2 separate regions of the Homo sapiens genome follow, and region 2 is linked to region 1. Evidence: promoter capture Hi-C in human tissues and cell types (Jung and others, 2019). All regions are on one chromosome and are shown on one strand. Each heading gives the region's core, a stretch centred on a gene start or on the middle of the fragment in contact. The rest is flanking DNA. Distances are from core to core; before and after follow the strand shown.

Region 1 (3,036 bases), core at 180-2,679:
ATTCACCCCAAAATAATAGATTTTAACCTTTCAGCCAGTTCCTTCTGACATTTCACCTCTGTATATTACTATTGTTAAATCATGGTAGAACCGAATTCTGAGGCCCAGGCCACTCTTCTAAGTGCTGCGCGGATGTGAGCTCATGTGAGGCTGCCCTAGGCCCGCACGGGCCATTCCCATCTTACAGAGGAGGTGCCAGAGGCGCAGAGAGATGGGGTAACCTGCCCAGGCCACAGAGCTGGGGACGGATGGGGCTGGGGCCTCTTACCAGACCAGCCCTGTCCAGTCTCTGTGTCACCAGCCTTGCAGGAGGGAGCCATTGGGGACCAGACTCTCTTCTTACTAAATTTTAAAATAATAGCATTTCTCCTGATCATTGAGTTTTTTTCCCATATATTCCATGTTTTTTGTTTTTGTTTTTTTTTCTTTTGAGACGAAATTTGGCTCTTGTTGCCCAGGCTGGAGTGCGATGGGGCGATCTCGGCTCACTGCAACCTCCGCCTCCTGGGTTCAAGCGATTCTCCTGTCTCAGCCTGTGGAGTAGCTGGATTATAGGCGCCCGCCACCACACCCGGCTAATTTTGTATTTTTAGTAGAGACAGGGTTTATCCATGTTGATCAGGATGGTCTCGAACTCCCGACCTCAGGCAATCCACCCACCTCAGCCTACCAAAGTGCTGGGATGACAGGTGTGAGCCACCGCACCCGGCCACTATATTCCATGTTACTCGTGTCATTTATAAACAGTGAATGCTGATAGTGGAGGAGGAGCGTGTGTTTGGGGTCATCTGCATCCTCCTCTGCCCACAGTGGAGACATCCTTGGAAGATACGATTTATCTTGTGCTTCAGAGACCATTCCCTCCCCACACCCTCTCCTAAGACTTGCTATTTAAGCAAAGTAAATGTTACAGAAAATCCATCAAAGCACTGTGAACAAAATTCCACATTGCTCTAATCATCCTTTGGTTCAATTCTCCCAGTTCCAGAGTTCAGGAATGGCGGAAAGAACACAGAGGGAGCACCCTCCCAGGGCCGGGAGCACCAGCCCTGCCATGACTTTCGGTGGCGGGGGAGAGTCTCAGCAGGGCACCTGGGCTGGGGCAGGTGGGGAAGCGGCCTATTCAGAAGCAGCAGTGGGGCAACCACAGAGCAGGAAAAAGAGCCTGGCTGGGAGTGGCGGGGGCAGGGGAGCCAGAGGGGAGGGAGCCCAGGGCTGGGGCTGGGGCAGGGGGAGGCCAGGGCTGACGCCCAGCAGAGCCACCAGGCAGGAAGGGGCAGCAGAGGGGCCCAGCGGGTAGAGCGGGCAGCGGTACCTGAAGTGAGGCTTCATCCTTGGCCGGCTAGTCCCGACTAAGATCTTTGTCTGGAGCACCAGGGTTTCACTTTCTGCTCCAGGCTCCAGGTTTCAGGACAGCCCTCCCTAAAGTGACCTCCCAGGGCCTCGTAGTCATGGCCCCTCCCCCTTCCTGCTCAGGCGCTGGTGTAGGAGGCCCTGGGACGCTTTATCTTCCTCAGTCTCTCACCCTCTTTCTGGTTTTCTCTGGGGCCCTCCCCCTGGCAGAGGGACCTCTGATAAAGACAGGCCGCTCTGTGCGGCAGGACCCAAGGCAATTGCAAAGGGAAAGAGAAAGTCATTGCAGCCAGCGCCCGCGAGGTGGGTCCACACCAGGCTGAGCCAGCAGAGCACAAGCCCCTCCCCTGGTGGTCCCGCCCAGCTGGAGCCTCCTCTCCACCATCAAGACAGACAGGCTGATGCCTCCGCAGGGACTCCCGGATCCTGCCCTCGGGGATCATCCCAGAGACGGCCCCCACCCAGCGGCCATGGGGACAGGGAGGGAGAGTAAAGGGCCAGGTGTCTGCCTCTCCCCAGGCCTTCACCCTCGGAGGCCACCGTGGGAGGGAGGGACAGCAGGTGGGTGTGGGCCTCAGATGTCCCACCGGGATGCCATGCGCGCCCCCACACTGAGCTCTTTCCTTCCTGCTTCTCCTTCTTCCCCATCTCCTGCCCGGAGTTCCTCCCTGGTGGGCTGAGCTCTCGCCTCCTCTTGTCCCCATGTCATGGAAGAGCAGTGGCTGGTGTCCCAGGCCAGCCTGTCTGGAGCCTCCCTGCGCGTCTCACAGCTCCCTTCCCCTGGTAGCGTGTTCCCATGGCGCGGTGACCTAAAAATTACACAAGGGATGCATTTGGTTTTTTTGTTTGCTTTTGTTTTTTTGTGTTTTTTTGTTTGTTTGTTTGTTTTGAGACGGAGACTTGCTCTGTTACCCAGGCTGGAGTACAGTGGCGTAATCTCAGCTCACCGCAACCTTTGCCTCCCAGGTTCAAAAGATTCTCCTGCCTCAGCCTCCCATGTAACTGCGATTACAGGCACCCACCCCTACGCCTAGGCTAATTTTTGTATTCTTAGTAGAGACAGTGTTTCTCCATGTTGGTCAGGCTTACAGCCGCCCACCACTATGCCTGGCTAATTTTTGTATTTTTAGTAGAGACAGGGTTTCTCCATGTTGGTCAGCTGATCTCGAACTCCCGATCTGAGGAGATCCGCCCGCCTTGGCGTACCAAAGTGCCGGGATTACAGGTGTGAGCCACCGCGCCTGGCCACAATGTATAAATTTGGAAAGGAGATTTTATTTCTTGTTAAGGGTGACAGGCAGCAAGGTAGCCATCCCGCAGCCTGGGAAGAGCAGCCTCTGGGAAACACCAGAGACAGACATTTAGAAGCAGGAGGGGTTGGGGCAGGAGCTTTATGCTGAAGGGGTTGGCTAAACATACATATTCAACAGGCTATAGGAGGAGCTATGAATATTCATGTGGGTGGCTGCACTCCATGCTTATTGAACAAACATGCGTGTAACATATGATCCCAGGCAGGCACAGTGGCTCACGCCTGTAATCCCAGCATTTTGGGAGGCCGAGGCAGGTGGATCATCTGAGGTCAGTGTCAGGCCTCTGAGCCGGAGCTAAGCCATTGTGACCCCTGTGAACTGCACATATACATCCAGATGGCCTGCAGCAGCCAAGAAGTCTGGAGCAGCC
Region 2 (2,997 bases), core at 376-2,875, 96 kb before region 1:
TCAAAGCTTAGAATCTTGCTGTAAGGAAGCCCTGAAAGCTTTGAGCCTTTCGATGCTCAGAATCCCTAAACACAAAATTATCACTGAGAATCTCAGAAACATAAACTTGAGAATTGAGGAAACATGAGAGGCTGGAGTTTCAGAATCTAAGAAACAGAATCTTTTTTTTTTTTTTTTTTTTGAGACGGAGTCTCGCTCTGTCGCTCAGGCTGGAGTGCAGTGGCGCGCGATCTTGGCTCACTGCAAGCTCCACCTCCCGGGTTCACGCCATTCTCCTGCCTCAGCCTCCCCAGTAGCTGGGACTACAGGCGCCCGCCACCACGCCTGGCTAAATTTTTGTATTTTTAGCAGAGACGGGGTTTCACCGTGTTGGCCAGGATGGTCTCGATCTCCTGACCTCATGATCCGCCCGGCTTGGCCTCCCAAAGTGCTGGGATTACAGGCGTGAGCCACCGCGCCCAGCCAGAAACAGAATCTTAGAATTGTAGAACTACAGCCTTGGAATGTCAGACCCCTAGAAGTGTGTCATTTTTGAGTGGGCCTCCTGTTCCAGCCTTCAGTCAGTTGGGGACCCAAGTCTCTGCAGCATCCCGGAGTACCCACGTCGTAGGTCTTGGGGGCCTTTCCTGACCTCAGTGCTTTGCAGTGACAGGGACGTGGATCTTGGAGCAGTGCAGTCACAGGTTGAGTCTCCCTGATCCAAAATCCAAAATGCTGCCATGTGCGGTGGCTCATGCCTGTAATCCCAACACTTTGGGAGGCCGAGGCGGGTGGATCACCTGAGGTCAGAAGTTCAAAACCAGCCTGGCCAACATGGTGAAAACCTGTCTCTACTAAAAATACAAAAATTAGCTGGGGATGGTGGCGGGCACCTGTAATCCCAGCTACTCAGGGGGCTGAGACAGGACAGTCACTTGAGCCCGGGAGGTGGAGGTTGCAGGGAGCCAAGATCATACCATTGCACTCCAGCCTGGGTGATAAGAGTGAAACTCCGTCCCCTGCCGCCCCGCCCCCCCACCCCAACAAGAAAAACAAGATCTGAAATGCTCCAGAATCCAAAACATTTTGAGCACCAAAATGATGTTCAAAGGAAGTGTTCATTGGAGCAGTCTAAATTTCAGATTTTTGGATTGGGGATGCTCAGCTAGTATATATAATGCAAATATTCCAAAATCCTAAAAAAATTCGAAGTCTGAAACACTTCTGGTTCCAAGCATTTCGGATAAGGAATGCTCTGCCTGTGTGTGGTTGTAGGTAAGCCTCTTCACCTGTAAAATGGGTATGAAGAGAATACCCGCTCTCCTTAATGTAATAAGACCCACCAGGCAGGATATTGGAAGCCAGAAAGTCAGGATTCTTGGTCCACTTGTATGTGGTCCATGTCAAGCGTCCTTGGCCACTCCTGATTAAAACCCATGGAGGCTTTCGCCAGAGGGGGTGGGCCTCCCTTCATGCAGTGGGCATGTTCCATTGGGTTTGGCATGAATTGAGCCTAGGAAGGGAAGTAACATCTCCTGGACGTCTGTGTGCCAGGCTGTCTGCCCAGTGTGCCTCACAGATGAATATACTCCATCCACATACTAAGCCTACAGGGCAGGTGTGTTCGTTATCTCTTCCCCTCTAACATGGCAACTCAAAGCAATAAACATTGATTATTTCACATGGCTTCTGGGGGTCAGGAATTTGGAATTGTGCTAGCTGGTTCTTCAGTGGTTCTAGTCTGGGCTGCAGTCAAGGTGTTGGCTGGGCTGCAGTCATCTGCAGGCTCGACCAGGGCTGCGGGATCTGCCTCCGAGGGGGCTGCTCACGTGCCATCGAGTCAGGGCTGGACGTTGACAGGGACTGGTCCTCACCATGTGGACCTCTCCAGAGGGTTGCTTGAGTGTCCTTACAGTGCAGCCACCAGCTTCCCAGAGTGGGTGACCTGAGAGAGAGAGCAGGGAAGAAGCCACAGTGTCTTTTATGCCCTAGCCTGGGAAGTCACACAACACAGCACTGGGTGTGGGAATGGACGGCGCATAGGTGTGAATTCCAGGAGGTGGGTGTGGTTGGGGCCCTCCTCGGAGGCTGGCTCCTACAGTCTCTTCATTGTTTCGCTGAGAAAGAAACTGAGGCCCAGGGAGGCCGGTAGCTTACCCAGGACCTGACTGTTGGCACCCGCGTCCCTTTAGTAGCTGTAGTTCTCTCGTGATGAGGTTGCCAAGGACGTAGAAGACCCTGCCTTGCAGAATGGTAGAATGTACTGGGCTTCTTTTTTTTTTTTTTTTTTTTTCCCAGACAGAGTCTCGCTCTGTCGCCCAGGCTGGAATACAGTGGTGCGATCTCTGCTCACTGCAAGCTCTGCCTTCTGGGTTCAAATGATTGTCCTGCCTTAGCCTCCCAAGTAGCTGGGATTACAGGCACCTGCCACCACACCCGGCTAATTTTTGTATTTTTAGTAGAGATGGGGTTTCGCCATGTTGGCCAGGCTGGCCTTGAACTCCTGACCTCTGGTGATCCAGCTGCCTCGGCCTCCTAAAGTGTTGGGATTACAGGCGTGAGCCACTGTGCCTGGCCCATACTAGGCTTCTGATGGCCTGTGAGCCCGCTGGGAGGAGTGGGTTTTGAGTCAGCTGCCTACCAGATGTGCCTCCCAGGCACTGCAGTATTTTCCCAGTCCCCTCCCAGTTTAGCCCTCCTCCCATCACTGCAGCAGCCGGCACCTGGGGACATGTGATGCCGTTAACAGGCACGACTGTGAGTGGGACCTGCGTGTGTCATCCCTTCCCTCAGCTTGGAGGTGTTTGACCTCACAGGTCCCATCTGATGGCTGCACTATCTTCCTGGGAGCTCCTGACCTCTGGTAGCAGGTGGCAGGAGAAGGTACTGTCCCAGTGATCCAGAGTCTCCCAACATCTTGGCACCATGAATCTTTTGTAGATTCATGTAAATTCTCCCCAAGTAAATAAGATAAATCCCGACATTACAAACTCCAGGGGTGGACAGACTTGCCCTCCA

The links. Contacts are between HindIII fragments. The study calls those that stand out against the background at their distance.
Region 2: a contact is called between a fragment that was not itself captured here and the fragment with the promoter of APOBEC3F in region 1, in 2 of the 25 tissues and cell types used here (H1 embryonic stem cells and spleen).

Annotation. Positions count from the first base shown.
Region 1 is chr22:39,039,257-39,042,292 of GRCh38, reverse strand. APOBEC3F (apolipoprotein B mRNA editing enzyme catalytic subunit 3F) reads right to left here and starts at 1,429. Exons shown (of 7, transcript NM_145298.6): 1 at 1,316-1,429. The coding sequence starts at 1,332. RefSeq lists enhancers at 1-507, 1,560-1,619. The HindIII fragment of the contact is 19,854 bases long and covers 1-3,036 here.
Region 2 is chr22:39,135,367-39,138,363 of GRCh38, reverse strand. The region is part of intron 4 of CBX7 (chromobox 7); the gene reads left to right. Among named protein-coding and RNA genes, the nearest start is that of CBX7, 16 kb to the left of the region's middle. RefSeq lists an enhancer at 2,285-2,997. The HindIII fragment of the contact is 3,206 bases long and covers 23-2,997 here.